4 separate regions of the Homo sapiens genome follow, and regions 1, 2 and 3 are each linked to region 4. Evidence: promoter capture Hi-C in human tissues and cell types (Jung and others, 2019). All regions are on one chromosome and are shown on one strand. The core of a region is centred on a gene start or on the middle of the fragment in contact, and the rest is flanking DNA. Distances in the headings are between cores, read along the strand shown. Region 1 has its middle 140 kb from the start of SESN3. Region 2 holds the start of SRSF8 (serine and arginine rich splicing factor 8). Region 3 overlaps LOC105369439 (a long non-coding RNA gene). Region 4 holds the start of SESN3 (sestrin 3).

Region 1 (4,097 bases), core at 108-2,607, 140 kb before region 4:
CCACGATGTCTTGTTAAGAAAAGCAGGCTACGGAAAAATAAATATGGTTCTATTTTTATAAAAATAAGTAGCAATCATCCTCCTCCTCATATAGGTATATGCACATTTTCATAAACAAAAAAGTGTGGAAGGTGTAACCTTAGGGGGCGGAAAATGAAGGAGATGGCGGGGACAGAAATCATTAAATTCTATGATGTATTTTTGATTATTTTATTGGGTAGACTGTTTATGTAGTGCTTCTCTATTAAAAGTATTAATAAATAAGATAATGTTTTCAAAGAAAACGTGACCTCAGAAGCTAATGGGACCTGGGCTTGTGAGTCAAGTACTATTGTTCTTACAGAGGAGTTGAGAGGAAATGAATCTGATGGGAAAGAAGGGAAAGAAACAAACGGGCGACTTTCCACTCCTGTGCCACATGCTTCCATTTCTCCCTCTAGGAAACCCTTCTAGGGATGCTGCACTTGCTCTGCCGGTGGGCTGGCTTCACGGACTGCTGCCTCTCATTATCCAATTCCTTTCTTATAATTTTTAGGCTGGACACCGCCTACTTCGGTGGTCTAATTTAGGCCATGTGCATGCATTTGGGGGATGTGTCTGTTGCTAGTATATAACATTTTCACATTTAGATCTCTTTAATAATCTTCATTTGAATAGTAGTTCAGGCAAAGGAAAAAGAGACCATGTTTGCGTTGATGTCTTTCAGCCAAACTCTGCCACCCAGGAGCTAGCCAGTGTCTGGGGAAATTCGCCAGCCTGGACTCTGGCAATAAAACAGCCATTTATCCTAGGCCAGAAACAAACCTTTCCAGGCCTGAGGTAAATTTACATAGAAATAAAACTTAAATGAGGAAAATACTACTGGGGCGATGCTTTAAATTATTTACATTTGTTCATCTCCAACAGTAAAACAAAGCTTCAGGGATGCAGACCCAGAGACAGTATCTTCCCGCTGAAATACAGAAGAAACATTTTGATTTTACTACTATTCCCAAATATTCTAGAAACCTAGCCAGGCGTTAGAGACAATGGAAAACTATTCTTGCTTTTAAAGATATAGTTAAGTTAATTTGGCTGCTGTTAGATTGTAGAACTCTTGAGTTTTTAGAAAGGCAGGGGTGGGGACCAGGGAACGTGACCAGGAAGAAATTTCACTTGTCCCTTCTTGAGATCTAAGAAAGGAAGCACATCCTTCTTAATGCCCTGTTTCTTGGGCTGACCACCTATCTGTTCAGAAGGTTGTCTCTAGGGAGCCAACTGTTCCTGCTGTGATTTAAGTCTGTCTTCTCCATTCCAGCAATGGGAGTTAGGGAGAGTTAATTAACTGGTATGGTTTGGATCTGTGTCCCCACCAAATCTCATGTTGAAATGTAATCCCCAGTGTTGGAGGTGGGGCCTGGTGGAAAGTGTTTGGATCATGATGGCAGATCCCTTACTAATGGCTTAGGGCTATTCCCTTGGTGATGGGTGAGTTCGAGTGAGATCTGGTTGTTTAAAAGCGTAGCACCTCCCACTCTCTGTTTCTTGCTCCCACTTTCACCATATAATCCATTGGCTCCTCCTTTGCCTTTCATTATGATTGTAAGCTTCCTGAGACCTCCTCAGAAGCCAAGCAGATGCCTGGTGCCATGCTCCCTGTACAGTCTGCAGAATCATGAGTCAATTAAACCTCTTTTCTTTATAAATTACCTAGCCTAAGGTATTTATTTATAGCAAGAATGGCCTAATACACTGGCCTTATTATTTTTTCCTCACCTGAAACTTGAGCTGAGTAAGGAATCCTTGACTGCCAATGAATCTATAGAACTCTGTTCACAGAGAAGTACATTTGAGAATCAAGAAAAAATCATTTTTAAAATGCAGGGGACCCAAATTGTTGAGACTTGCCCAGAGACAGCAGATAATCAATGGCAAAATCAGACCCCAAACTGCTGGCATCCTGAGTTAGTTGCTTCTTCTTGCTGCTTAAAATCGTTACCTGACTTTGCTAGGTGACTGGGGATGAGCATTCTGAGCAGAAAGAACATTGTATACCTAGAAAAAGGTCTGAAACAGCATAAATGTTTGGAGAGTTTTAGAAATTTAATACAAGCAAGACAGAGGCATAAGGACTGTGATGGAGCCATTGGAGAGCAGGCTAGAAATCAGCCTTGTAAGCAGGATACAAAGTTTGGACTTGGTATTTGTTGTGACTCTTTCAATTACAAGCTAAAGAAACCCAAGACCAAACTCAGCTAAGTAATGGTAATAATAATAATGGTTAACACTTAGCAATGTTCTAAGCTTTCTGTATGCATTAACTCATTTGGAACTCATTACAATCCTGTGAGGGTGTTATTATTATGCCCATTTTAGAGATGAGGATATTGGTATTCAGAAAGGTTAAATAATTTATCCAAAGTTACATAGCCATTAAGTGCCAGCACTGGATTCTAACATGGAAAATATATTGACCCCTGTGACTGGTAAAGTCCACGAGTAAGGCCCACTTCATGGGCAACTAAATCATCCAGGAGCTCAAACAATTTCCTAAGGCTCTGTCTTGACTGGGTCAGCTTCTTTTCATGCACTGCCTTCACATTTGGAGAGATTCTCCCAATGTGGAGAAAAAGAAACAATTCGTATTTCAGAGCAAGAGTGAGACCCTTTCCTTCCCCATACTTATACATGACAGTTCTTCTTGGCCTCTTCTTGCCCATTCTGAAACTCATCACTATGGCCAGGTGCATGGAGGACATAAGAAGGCGGTTGGAGCTGGACCAACCACATGAATTGGGCTCTCACGAAAAGACCCATTATCAGAAGAGGTGGGGTGTCGCCAGTTAGATGCCCCACCGGAGGATATAAAGAGGGGAGGGCACAATCGAGTTTGCACTTTAGAAAAAAATGGTGTCGCAGATGGATTAGAGGCATGTAGAACTGGAGACAGGGAAGCCAGCTAGAAAGCCGACCAGGTTTTCCAGGTGGGAAATGAATCCAAGGCTGTGGTGATGGCAAGAAGGGAACAGAGTCAAGAGGTATGTAGGAGATACACTTGGATTTAGGCCTGGAGGAAGAAGAAGGAATTAACGGCAACTCCGAGGCTGTGGTATTAACTGAAATTGAGAAAACAGGAAGTTGAGTAAGTATTCAAGGGAGAGGAAAGACAGTATTTAAGTTCATTTGGGGATGTCTTTGCATTTGGACTGTCTTTCCTGCTAGAGAGTAACTTCTGTGAGCCAGAGACCCCATCTGCCCTGTTCACTACAATATCTGCAATAACCATGTAGCACCTGGCACATATTAGGCACTTCCCTATTAAATGCACAAAGAAAGGTGTCTACCTGATATCCAAGTGCATGCACCAGTCAGGTTGTTGGAAAGTCAGAAGAGATGCCCAGCCCCACAGTGTGAATTTGGGGGTCACAGGGATATGGGCAATAGAGAAAAATGGGGGCATTAAAGAGATGGTTCAGAGTGAGTGTGGAAGGAGAGACTGGGCATAGAATGCCTGCATGTAAGGGGCTAGCAGACGAAGATGAGCCTGGGATCTGTTGGAAAGTGAATGATGAGAGAAGGAGTAAAAGAAGCCTAGGGTGGTAACAGGGAAACTTGGTGTGGAAAGGGAGAGCTGACAGTCAGAACAATGTCCACTCTTCTACTTGCTAGCTGTGTGAACTTGAGCAAGTTATTTCACTTCTGTGTGCCTCAGTTTCCCTCTTTTAAAATGACAAAAATAATACTGCCTATCTTAGGTATAGTTGTGAAACATTTTAAAAATAAGTTATTTTTTAACTTGTAAAGACACAGTACTTGTCTCAATATTTACCTAAGGAGTGAGTCATGCGTCATACTGAATACCACAGAGGGGCCAAGCAAGACAAAGACTAAAATGTGCCCACTAGATTTGGCAAGTTGGATAGAGTTGGGCCCATACAAATGAACAATCTGCAAAGCTGGGAATAAAAGCCAGATTGGATAAATTGAGAGTGGGTGGTAAGGAAGTAAATACATTATCCGCTGTATTTTTTTCTCCTGGGCAAGTAGCAGCAGCTAATATGTTTTGCTTATCTGTCTTATTTATTGTTTATCTCCCCAATTAGAATGTAAGATTTATG
Region 2 (4,183 bases), core at 1,324-3,823, 160 kb after region 4:
GATCCACCTGCCTTGGCCTCCCAAAGTGCTGGGATTACAGGCGCGAGCCACCATGCCCGGCCACAGGTTTCAAAGTTTTTAACGTATAAAGAGTTGCTGATTTTAACATCATATTTTGGTCACGTTTAAGATGTTCTACAGATATTTTTGCTTCAAAGCTTCAAACTCCAGCTATGCCTGGGTCTCATTCTATCCCCAGAAATTGACAATGCTTCCCTACCCTTAGGGCTGCCCCGTCCCCGTCCCACTCGGTCCCATTTAATAAATATACCTCACCTCCCTTCGCCACCTGCTGGACGCGAGGGGCTACTACGATGCCATGGGTGTCCTGATTTTTTATTTCTCAGACAGGACTGCTCTGTGTGTGTCTTTGGATTCTACGTAGATTTATATTTGTAAAATATTACATTTGTCATGACCAGAAGAAATGTCATTATCGTAAAATTTAGATTCTGGAGTCTATATATGAAAGCAATACTAACTACTAACTGTTATAACAACAAAATGTGGGATGTATATCTACAGACCACAGCCACCTTGCCAGTTCATTCAAGAATCGAACCCTGGATTTAGCAGTTTCTGCACAAAGGGAATGAAATATTTTTAATTGATAATTCAGTCAAAAATATTAATGAAGATCCATATGATTGAAAGAATAAATTTATTCAATTGGCTCCAATGTAATCCTATTGTCACCAGATCATTGACACCAAATTGTTATTTTTCCCTTTGCTAGTAAAGGTATAAGCAGAAACAATTGCAAAAGAACACATAACATCTAGTAGGGATAATGATGAAAGCCAAAAATGGATTATTTGAAAATAATTTTGGAAGTAAAAAAACCATAGGTGTGAGGAAAAAAGAGAGAAACTACAAATAAACTGCATTGTGATAAAACAATAAAGCACATAGCTAAAAGCCTATTAAGGATTTTTTAAAAATTATATTTTGAGAAACACTTGGTGCTAATAATTTTCTCAAAAGTACAAATATCCAAAAGTCATACAGAAAATAAAACAACCTACTTTCCATCAAAAGTTTCTAATTTTATTCTGAGAAAAGATAACACCAAGAAAACAATTTTAACTACAGAAACAATGGTTAGCGTAAAAAATTAATAATCAAAAAGATAAACCATGTTATAAGTACTTAACAAACTTATAAACTATTTCTTCCATAACATTCTCCATATTTTAAGTTCATACATGTTGATATGATCAGATTTACAATTTTTCAGAAAAGACGGGGGAAAAGGTGTGATTATCGTCAGCTAGATGTGCTCACTGCATGCTCCATTATTTATCTGCAAGGCCTGGGTGACTGGAAGTGCAGTTGACAGGCATTTTAATAAACTGGACAGCCATTTGTTCTTCAGGACAAGGCGTGTTTTCCCCAGGAGCAATCAGAAGAAAACAGGAAGCAGCTCAGCACTCTGCACTGCAACAGGCCACCTTAATAGCTAACCAGCATCACTCAACTGCTACGCAGCCGGGCCTGGTGCACAAAAACACAAAAGAGATTAGACCTGTGTTTGCTAAAACCCCAGTCCTTTCACATGAAAAATCTTTATACAAATTTGGGTCACACTACCTTTTAGACCTGGAGGTAAATAAAATTATCCATATTAATTTACACCACCTTTTGTAGGTTTTTAAGGAATGAAGGCAATGTTGAAGCATGTCTTGACAGCGTTAGGCTGTGTGTAATGGCTGCACACGTTTCCTTAAAAGTCAGGAGGCCACAAATTAGGTTACCAATCTGTTCATTTCAAACCAAAACAGTCATCACTATAGAAATAAAAATAAATTTTTGCCTCAAATATCCAAACCCAATAACGTAATCTTAGGTCGTTCACCTCCTAAGTTACAATAAAATGTGAATAACAACAAAACGGCACATAGAATGAATTTTGCCACCTGATGCAAAGCTTCAAACTGGCAAAAAGGTAGAAAAGTGTGACACAACCTTTTCAATAGGCAGCCTCTTCTTCCAGGGACGTTGCTTCCATAGACTGAGTATGTGATCCTTTTCCCCCAAGTCCTCCATCACGTTGCTTCCTGATGCATCATTTTCTTAAGAGGACATCTGTCCTTCCTCTTCAGGAGACTTGGGGGGCCTCTTGGATCGCGACCTTGACTTGGATTTCCTCTTGGATACCCGGGGAGGACTCCTGGTCATAGATGAAGACCTGGACCGCGAGCGAGACCTGGAGACCGAGGAGGACTTGGATCGTCGCGCAGAGCTCGATTTGGAGGTTGATGCAGAGCGAGAGCTAGTGGAGGACCCAGACTTCGAGTGAGACCGGCTGCTGTGATATCGGCTGTAGCGAGAGTTACTGTAACCAGATGAGCTGTAGTGAGATCCGCCGTAGCGAGATTCCCTGTAGCGAGATCTGCTGTAGGGAGAGCGGCTGTAGCGCGACCGGCTGTAAGGAGATCGGCTGTAGGGAGACCGGCTATAGCGAGAACCCCTATAGCGAGATCGGCTGCGGGACCTGGAGCAGCTGGGACCCCGGGATCGGCTGCGGTGTCGCCGCCTGGGGCTGCGGCTCCGCCGCCCGTAGCTGCGGCTCCGCCGTCCGTAGCCGCCGCCTCTGGACCTGCCGCGTGGCTCTCCCTGGCGGCTGCGGGGCAGGTCCCGGCGGCCATAGCGCGCCACCTGCACCCGCAGCTCGCGTCCGTCCAGCTCCGCCCCGTCCATGGCGGCCTCGGCGTCTTGGGCGTCGCGCCGGTCGTGAAAGCGGACGAAAGCGAAGCCCCGGGGCGCCTTGGTGTGGGGCTCCCGCGGGATGTACACGTCGCCCACGCGCCCGTACTTCTCGAACACGCGCCTCAAGCTGTCGGGAGAGGTGCGGTAGGTCAGGTTGTCCACCTTGAGGGTGATCATGCCGTCCACGTCGGGAGGGGGGCGGCCGCAGCTCATGGCTCCGAGAGCAGCCCGGGCCCGGAAACTGGCGCTGCTCTGGGCGCTGACGGTGCGACCTGCGTTTCTTTCTCGCGGTTGCGCCCCGCGTGGGGACGCCGGGAAAGGCCGGGCGGAGAGGCGGGCGGCGGAGCTCCGCAGGGAGCGCCCTGGAGCAGCAACTTCCGAGTTCCCAATTTCAGGCCAAATACTCCAGGACCCAGAGGAAGGTTTCCTTTTGGTAGCTGAACTCCAAATGAAGCCAGGCCCCGAAGATCCTGGCCTTGTACCTGGGCAACATCCTAACCTAATCAGCGCCCAGCTAATGTAATCACTGGGCTGGATTTACATTAGACGTCCCACCCTCCCATGCTCCTCCCTATTATTCTACGTTTTAAACCAATCTTAAGAACAAAGCTAACTGATTAAAGGTCAATTTATGGGAACAGGCAATCCAGACAAATATTAAACAAAAGAAACCTAGGGCAACAATATTAATATCCAGTGTATTGATAGGATCAAAGGAGCACATTTCATAGTTATTGAAAAGAAAATTCACTAGGAAAACATTACAGTGATGAACTTAACGCACCTAAACACATAACAGTGACACATAGCCAAGACTGAGAGTTATAAGGTAAAACTGAAAAATCTGCACTCATGATGGAAGTTTGTTTTTTCCCCGTAACACCGTTTTCTCAGAAATCAATAGTGCAGAGAACAAAACTAGTAATGCTATAATAATTTGCACAACAAACAACAATTTTGATCATATAACCTGCAACAACCAAAAATATATAGAAAACAGAAGAATTTCCCAATACAAGACTACAAAATAAATGTCAATTAAAATTTAATAGGTCAATAAATTCAGCACATCTGGACCTCAGTGAAATAATATTGAAGGTTAAAAATAAAAAACCTGAATCCAATCATATTTACTTGAAAATTAATAACCACATTTCTAAAACTTTTTTTATGTTGAAGTCAAGCAATTAGTAAAACAAAACCAAAACAAAAAATAAAACATTAAAATAAAAATAGAATTACAAATAAAAGGGACAATATGTTTTTTTAAAAAGATGATTAATAAAACTGAAATCTAACACTTTTAAAGAAAAAAACAATCTAGCAATACTGATGAAGAAATACAGTTTCTAAATCTGGAAAGGAAATATACAGAAAGGGCCTAGAGCATCTTGGAGTGCTGGAAAATAAGGATGTGATAAATAGAAAACAAACAAAAGCATTGATGGGGTAATTTTAGAGGGGTACAAAAACC
Region 3 (3,993 bases), core at 1,443-3,942, 250 kb before region 4:
GGCACATTGCTCTTTACCTATAACTTTTATCTAAACAGCAATCTATTGAACGAGTTTGGTTTCATAGATGAAGAAATTGAAGTTTAGAGGCATCAAGTAACCTGACCAAAGTTACTGACTTAATAAGTGTCCAAGTTGTGATTTCAGCCCACATTTGGCCTCTAAAAACATGCTATTTCTACTACCCTACAAAGCATTATAAATTAAGAACAGAAGTGCTCACAGAAGGACAATCTACTAATGTGTTGAATGCTAATGAATATTAGTCAGTTGATGGACATTAGCTGTGTCACATTTTCCGGGAATATGACCCTCTTTTTGCAAGGAGTGCTTGCTATTTCTGGAGCATTTTAAAATTGCTTCATTGAGTTCTGGCCGCAGGATATGTTTTTTTTTTTATTTTTTTATTTTATTTTATTATTTTTTTTTTTATTGATCATTCTTGGGTGTTTCTCGCAGAGGGGGATTTGGCAGGGACACAGGACAATAGTGGCGGGAAGGTCAGCAGATAAACAAGTGAACAAAGGTCTCTGGTTTTCCTAGGCAGAGGACCCTGCGGCCTTCCGCAGTGTTTGTGTCCCTCGGTACTTGCGATTAGGGAGTGGTGATGACTCTTAACGAGCATGCTGCCTTCAAGCATCTGTTTAACAAAGCACATCTTGCACCGCCCTTAATCCATTTAACCCTGAGTGGACACAGCACATGTTTCAGAGAGCACAGGGTTGGGGGTAAGGTCACAGATCAACAGGATCCCAAGGCAGAAGAATTTTTCTTAGTACAGAACAAAATGAAAAGTCTCCCATGTCTACTTCTTTCTACACAGACATGGCAACTATCCGATTTCTCAGTCTTTTCCCCACCTTTCCCCCCCTCTCTATTCCACAAAACCGCCATTGTCATCCTGGCCTGTTCTCAATGAGCTGTTGGGTACACCTCCCAGACGGGGTGGCGGCCGGGCAGAGGGGCTCCTCACTTCCCAGTAGGGGCGGCCGGGCAGAGGCGCCCCTCACCTCCCGGACGGGGCGGCTGGCCGGGCGGGGGGCTGACCCCCTCACCTCCCTCCCGGATGGGGCAGCTGGCCGGGTGGGGGGCTGACCCCCCCACCTCCCTCCCGGACGGGGCAGCTGGCCTGGCGGGGGCTGACCCCCATCTCCCTCCCGGACGGGGTGGCTACCGGGCAGAGACGCTCCTCACTTCCCTGATGGGGTGGCTGCCGGGCGGAGGGGCTCCTCACTTCTCAGACAGGGCGGTTGCCAGGCGGAGGGTCTCCTCACTTCTCAGACGGGGCGGCTGGGCAGAGATGCTCCTCACCTCCCAGACAGGGTCGCGGCTGGGCAGAGGCGCTCCTCACATCCCAGACGGGGCGGGGGGGCAGAGGCGCTCCCCACATCTCAGACGATGGGCGGCCAGGCAAAGACGCTCCTCACTTCCTAGATGGGATGGTGGCCGGGAAGAGGCGCTCCTCACTTCCTAGATGGGATGGCGGCCGGGCAGAAACGCTCCTCACTTTCCAGACTGGGCAGCCAGGCAGAGGGGCTCCTCACGTCCCAGACGATGGGCGGCCAGGCAGAGACGCTCCTCACTTCCCAGACGGGGTGGCGGCAGGGCAGAGGCTGCAATCTCGGCACTTTGAGAGGCCAAGGCAGGCGGCTGGGATGTGGAGGTTGTAGCGAGCCGAGATCATGCCACTGCACTCCAGCCTGGGCACCATTGAGCACTGAGTGAACCAGACTCCGTCTGCAATCCCAGCACCTCGGGAGGCCGAGGCTGGCGGATCACTCGCGGTTAGGAGCTGGAGACCAGCCCGGCCAACACAGCGAAACCCCATCTCCACCAAAAAAGTACGAAAACCAGTCAGGCGTGGCGGTGCGCGGCTGCAATCGCAGGCACGCGGCGGGCTGAGGCAGGAGAATCAGGCAGGGAGGTTGCAGTGAGCCGAGATGGCAGCAGTACAGTCCAGCTTCGGCTAGGCATGAGAGGGAGACTGTGGAAAGAGAGGGAGAGGGAGACCGTGGGGAGAGGGAGACAAGAGGGAGAGGGGGAGGGGGAGGGGGAGGGAGAGGGAGAGGGAGAGGGAGAGGACAGCCACAGGATATGTTAATCACATTTTGCCACAACATTGCTAGCCACTAAATTCAAATGTTATAATATCCTATATGCATAATGCCACACAACTGGTTAGAACATGAAATAATGAAGACATTTAAACTAGTGTTTGCCCTTATGTGAGTGTTAAAAGGTTTAACCTGACTAAATTTTTTACAGAATTGATTTTTTAAAAAATAAATAGATTAAATCAACTGGCTGATTTAGCCTTTGAAATTCCAAGAACCCAAGCTCTTCTCAGTTTCTATGAAGCATGAGAAAGACTAAGATCTATGTCAGTGGCCGCCACTTATGAAAGAAACAGGATTTCTTAAAATTTTATTTTTTAAAAATCAAAATAATACAAGTACATGGTGTTTGAAGAAAATCAATGGAAGCTGGGAGAAAATGGGAAGATGTAGTTCAAAGGATATAAAGTAGCAGATATGCAGGATGAACAAGTTTAGAGATCTAATTTAAAGCATGAGGACTATAGTTAATAATATTGTATTGTATTCAGGATTTTTGCCAAATGAGTAGATTTTAGCTGTGTTTGCCATAAAAAATAGATAACTATGTGAGATGATGAATATGTTAATTTGCTTTACTACAGTAATCGTTTTACTATCTCATAACATTGTGTTGTATACCTCAAATATATACAGTAGAATTTATTTTTTAAAAGTTGGTTGGAGAAGATTATAATGAGAATTAGTATTCCCCCATCTTACTTTTTACAGTTAGAGCACATTTGGCTTTAAGTGTAAGACACACAGTTAAAACTGGCTTAAAATATTAAGAAATTTATTATTAAACATACCGAAGTCCACACGCAGGGCAGCCTCCAGGTATGTGTCTCAGGACTGTGACTCTAGTGTTCTGGAGCCCCTGAGTATGGAGCTTCCTCTTCTTCTAGTCACAAGATGGCTGCAACTGCCATCTGTTGAGAGCAGTGCGAGAAAGAGATGGTGTCCCCACTTATGGAACAGACACCCTTCCTTCAGCTTTATTAGGTTATCTTAGATCATGGCCCCCTCCCCACCATGACTAACAGTGGCCAATGAAATGTCAGGCATTGATTGACCAAATCAGTGATACTCTATCAAACTGAATGCCCCCCAACCTTTTGTTTTGAGATGGAGTCTCACTCTGTTGCCCAGACTAGAGTGCACTGGTGTAATCTTGGCTCATTGCAACCTCTGCCTCTGGCCAATGCTCCTTTTATAACAAGTTTTTCATAGTCTCCTCTGTCTTAGCCTGATAACATGTGATGGGCACCATAATCCATCTACACATTGCAATTTCAGGAAGAACTTACATTTACAAAGTTTCCCCAGACAAGCTCAGTTATGCCTAGACCTTTGGACAAAAGATGAATAAAATATGCTTCTTTCCAAACCCAGATCCACCATGAATAGATAAGCTTATGAACTGAATATCTTAACTATTTGTCTCAACTTTTACTTTGCTTTCTGTATTTTGAACAATACTGGGATGTCTGTGTTGTCATCCTTGTTCACTGTTGCTGCCTAAGCCTTAGGAGAAGGGATATCCTTTCTGAGGAATAATCTTGAGCTCCTAACCCTCTCTTCTTTTCTGTAAGACTTGTTAGTACTAACTGATTCTTACCCATTTAAATTCAGGCCATTGCGATGGTTCAAGAAATTGCTATTCAAGTGAGTGGAAGATCTCCAGGATCTCAGGCCCAAGAAAGGAAATACAATATAAAAAATGTAGAGAGAGGTCAACATTGTTTCCCATATAAAGTTACTTCTCAGAGGCGGTTCTTAGAGATTCCACAGCTTTGGATTTTCTAAAGTCAGCCTTTCCCTGGGCCATATTTCTCTATCTTGCTAAAACACACTTCTGTGTGTTAGGACAATTTCCATGAGATATACCACTTAATGC
Region 4 (4,101 bases), core at 1-2,500:
TAGGCGATGCAAGTTATCTCTGGGGCCCGGAGGACACGAGTGAGGACCGGGCACCAATCAGGTTCTCGCTCTGCGCCGGCCTTTGTTCTCACTCGGGAGCAGGTTGCGGGCGTCTAGCATCGGGAACCCGCATTCGACTCGGACGCGCATTGCTAGCCCCTTCGGGAGACCTGGCTCCCCTACCCGTCTGTCCCGCCACACTCGGTCAGCCTGCGCTTTCCCCAGTCAAGTCTGCCTTCTCTCCGCAGAACGTGGACGCTAAAACCCTGACTTACCATTTTAAGCTTTAGAAGAGGTAGGTTTGTCCCAATAGTTTTAAACGACAATTTGTTCTCTGAACCTTCCTTTCTGAGCAGGGCGCTGTGCTCTGCATGTATCCGAACAGCTGCCTCAGGAAGGTCTTTTGGGTGAGAAAACAAGCCCCTTTGGCCTTTTAGTGCTGGACAAGTAAATGAACTTACATCTCTAAGATAACTGCTAGAAGGTGCTTCACAAACAAGAGGAAACCGCTAAACCAGAGGTTTTGTGTCTCTCCCCTCAAACTCGATTACTTGCGTAAATATATATATAACTCAGACATTTATCCCCTATCCGCCTCCCAAGCCTCAAGTAACTGAAATCTTTGCAAAACAAGGTTCACAATAAATGATGCGTAAAGTTCTTTGAGATCCCTGGATACAAAGTACTACATAACTGCAGTCTTCTTTACAGCTAAAGTTAGATTTTGGTGGAGAGAAAGCCTAACCACTGCCCTGAAGGAAGGAACATTTAATCCTCCCACTCCCCTCCCCCTTTCTCGAGAGATCAGGAAATATTTAGCTCAATCTTAGACTCTCTAGCGAGCTCTAGCTCCCAACTATTTATCTCATTCTCCTCACCACTTCTGCAGGGACCTAGAGAAGGGGGCGTAGCTTATCTTGGGGGTGGGGCTTGGAGGGCAGTATATTTGCATATGACACACCCTCGTCCTCTTATTGGCAGAGGAGAGCAAACTGTTCCCTGCTACCCTACTACTTAGCTAACCGCCACCTCCCTTCAGTTCCGAGCCTCGGAGATAAACTTAACTTGCCCGGAGATTCAAGGCTTCCTCGGCCCCTGCGATTGGCCGGCGCGACTCCCAGTCGGGCTCTCGTTGCTCATTGGCTGCGGGCTAGCGCCCTGGGGGCGTAGCCGGAGCTGTCCGATTGGCGGGAGGGGCGGTACCGGAGCGTGGAGGTGGTGAAGGTGGTGGGGCGGCGGAGGCGGGGCCGCACTGAGGCGCTGCGGCGGCGGTGGTGGCGGTGGCAGCGGTGGCGGCTGCTCGTCCTAGCCTGGCGGGGGCGGGGGTCTGGAAGATGGGGGCGGGTGGAACAACGGGCCGGTGAGGAGCAGCCGCCGCCGTCTCCGCCGTCGCTGGGGCAGCTGCCGCGGTGGTCGCCTCTGGCAGTGCCGCTAGCTTTCAGGCAGTCGCCTCTCCTCCCGACATCCCGCCTTGAGGAGGCTGAGGCGGAATCGCGGCTGGCGGCGGGGGGACGGACCGGCCCTGCAGTGGCCGCAGTGACAGCCCGGACCCGGCCCTCCGCCCGCTCTCGCCTCGGCGCCCGCAGCCACGATGAACCGGGGCGGCGGCAGCCCGTCGGCCGCCGCCAACTACCTGCTCTGTACCAACTGCCGGAAAGTGCTGCGGAAGGTACGGGTTCGGCCCGGGGTCCTGCCGGCGAGGGTCGCTTCCTGCCGGCCGGGGCTCGGGCGGCTCGTCCCCGGGCGCGCACTGGGGGAGGCTGAGAGGGATCCCCGGGCACCGTCCCTCCGCAGGGACTGAGAAAGGGGGCGTGGGTTGAGGGCAGGAGGGTTTGGACTACTGCGGCTTTTTATTTCCGCCGGGACAGACCCAAGTCTGGAGGGGTTGGGATATTTTTTCTTCCCTTGTTCCTTTTATTTGGTGCCTTTGCTCTCCTTTACGGCTCATTTCCCTACCTTGCTACCCCGGGTCGGCTCCTTGGGCGGAGGGCGGGAGGGATCCGTTCGATCCTCCTCCCTGTGCAGTTTAGCTGTTGATGGAGGTCGGTGTGAAATCAGAGCAGCTGGGTCGGATCCCGAGGAACCTGGCCCCTCTTTGCTGTGGCTAACTCTTGCGAGTGTTGTTTTTGTTTATTCGGTTGCTTCTGCCTTGCGCGCCTTGCTCAACAACCCCCGTTTTCAAATTGTTTGGATGGTAGTCCTGTGTCTGTAGTTCAGTCTCGAAAGGAACCAGTAAAGCATCTTGAACTTTATGCCCATGGGAAATGCAATTCGACCTGGCCAGTTCCTGAGGCTGGGGTTGGGGGAGGAGAAGACTGAGGTGGATGTGGGTTATTCCTCCTTAGCACCCCCCTGCCCCCGTGTTGATCCAGAAAAATGAGGCGCACCATCAGTTTATTGCTGCTTCCTAGAGTGACTGATAGAAAGTTTACTCCAGTATTGTTTAGCTTACTTGGCTTAATCGCCCCGCGGGGAAGGGCGAGAGGGATGGGGAAGGGAATGAAAAAAAGGTCTCTAGACTTTTTGATCAGATTTTAACAGCTGCCCCAAAGTAATATTATAATCAGTTTATTCGTATTCAAACTCTATTTTTACATTTTATTAAGTGGAAACGTTAGGTGAGATGCTTCTGTTTGTTCACTACAAATGAATTAAAATTGCTGAGCTGTGCAAATGCATCGGGACTGAAAGCGGAGATGAATATGGTACCGTTTTTAGTCAACATCTCTAAATACGGTTCACTTTGGGATTGTTCTTTCTACATTTTTTTTTAAAAAAGGAAGAAAGAAAAAAGCACATAAGTAAGCAAGCTCAAATATTTGCGCTCTTTGTCCAAAAACTGTTTTTCTTCCTCTGTGGGTCAGGCCAAGTGCCAATCAAAGTTGTTTTTCAAGCCTCTTTTCCCTGCAGTAGGGCTGCTGCTTTTTTTTTTCTTCCTATTTTATTTGAGAGCGTGAGAGCAAAGGGATTGCAGATTTGAGGTTAATTGAACAGTTAAATATGCCTTAAATTGTGTTTATTGGATATGTTTCTCTTGAAACAGATTTTTATTAAATGTGCATGTTGAGTATGTGCAGTTATTTTTTTCCATAAACTCTAGGATCAAATTACAGTTGATACTTGCTCAGCTCATTGTAGGGTAGCTTGTGAGAAATGTAATGGATCAGAAGTGCAGATCAGCTTAGTTGGATGTTAACTCTTTCACTGCAGGGCCAGATGTCATCTGAACTTAGCTTTCAAAAAAATTTATTTCTTAATTTTTAAATTTATGTTATGTCTTTGACATGAAAAAATGTGTCATTTAAGACATGTTTGATTAAAGTGCAGCCTGGTTAAAATGACAGCAAGTTATGCTTTTTAATTGAATAAGGAAAAAGAGCACTGTATTGACTTTGATAAAAAAATTTTTTAATGGCTCTGGCAATTTGTTAGGCTAATAAAATGTTTGGAGGTAATATTAGGCTTCAAAATGTATTTCATTTTTCTTTTGAGAGAGCTATGGCTATGGATCCATGACACTTTGCTAGCATTTAAGATATTACATCTTTCCTTTAGCTTTTAGGAAACTATTTCTGTTTACCTAGAAAGAACATCCTCATTTCTAGCCATTATTAAAAGAAACGTGGAAAAAGAGTATTCACATTTTCGTATTTTATAATTGCTGAGCACATCTCTGCCAGTATTCCAGTTTTTAGTAACTCCAAGGTATTTAATATTGATTCATGCAGTGGCATGAAATAACTTAATGGAAATAGGATTCTTTGAGCCAGTTATAACATGACTTGGCAACATTTGCAGCTTTTTAAAGAGTGCCACTTTGAAGTGCTCTTAAGAGAATCAGTATGTAGCATTTTAAATGTTTCATCATTCTTAAAATAACAATGAAAAGTTTATTTCTAATAAAGACATGTTTTTCTTGTTGATATAACTCTAAGTTAAAAGTCATCTATAACTCTCAAAATGTGATTCTTAGAGTTTATCTTGTTTTCCATTTAATAAAGTGTTCAGTAATGTAGCCAAGTGAGTCATAGTATTTTGAATGTTTGTTCAGTCTAATTCATAATGGAAGAATGAAACTCATGCTCATCCAGTGTGAATTAC

What was found. The method cuts DNA at HindIII sites, captures the fragments that hold promoters and counts their contacts. A contact is called where the count stands out against the background at its distance.
Region 1: a contact is called between a fragment that was not itself captured here and the fragment with the promoter of SESN3 in region 4, in 1 of the 25 tissues and cell types used here (thymus).
Region 2: a fragment that was not itself captured here is called in contact with the fragment with the promoter of SESN3 in region 4 in 1 of the 25 tissues and cell types used here (hippocampus).
Region 3: a contact is called between a fragment that was not itself captured here and the fragment with the promoter of SESN3 in region 4, in 1 of the 25 tissues and cell types used here (hippocampus).

Annotation. Positions count from the first base shown.
Region 1 is chr11:95,364,578-95,368,674 of GRCh38, reverse strand. No RefSeq gene overlaps it. Among named protein-coding and RNA genes, the nearest start is that of SESN3, 140 kb to the right of the region's middle. The HindIII fragment of the contact is 4,861 bases long and covers 1-3,787 here.
Region 2 is chr11:95,065,966-95,070,148 of GRCh38, reverse strand. It overlaps SRSF8 (serine and arginine rich splicing factor 8), which reads right to left and starts at 3,230. Exons shown (of 1, transcript NM_032102.4): 1 at 1-3,230. The coding sequence starts at 2,922. The coding sequence ends at 2,074. RefSeq lists silencers at 256-315, 3,175-3,254 and enhancers at 1,488-1,547, 1,558-1,737, 2,045-2,154, 2,735-2,924, 2,649-3,406. The HindIII fragment of the contact is 3,060 bases long and covers 1,044-4,103 here.
Region 3 is chr11:95,479,842-95,483,834 of GRCh38, reverse strand. It overlaps LOC105369439 (a long non-coding RNA gene), which reads right to left. Exons shown (of 4, transcript XR_947928.3): 4 at 2,702-3,025. Among named protein-coding and RNA genes, the nearest start is that of SESN3, 250 kb to the right of the region's middle. RefSeq lists an enhancer at 981-1,531. The HindIII fragment of the contact is 7,251 bases long and covers 1-3,993 here.
Region 4 is chr11:95,228,351-95,232,451 of GRCh38, reverse strand. It overlaps SESN3 (sestrin 3), which reads left to right and starts at 1,250. Exons shown (of 10, transcript NM_144665.4): 1 at 1,250-1,669. The coding sequence starts at 1,592. LOC100129203 (a long non-coding RNA gene) reads right to left here and starts at 2,266. Exons shown (of 6, transcript NR_110295.2): 1 at 1,957-2,266; 2 at 879-1,327; 3 at 276-400. RefSeq lists enhancers at 1-231, 232-871 and silencers at 1,227-1,376, 1,387-1,696. The HindIII fragment of the contact is 13,238 bases long and covers 1-3,854 here.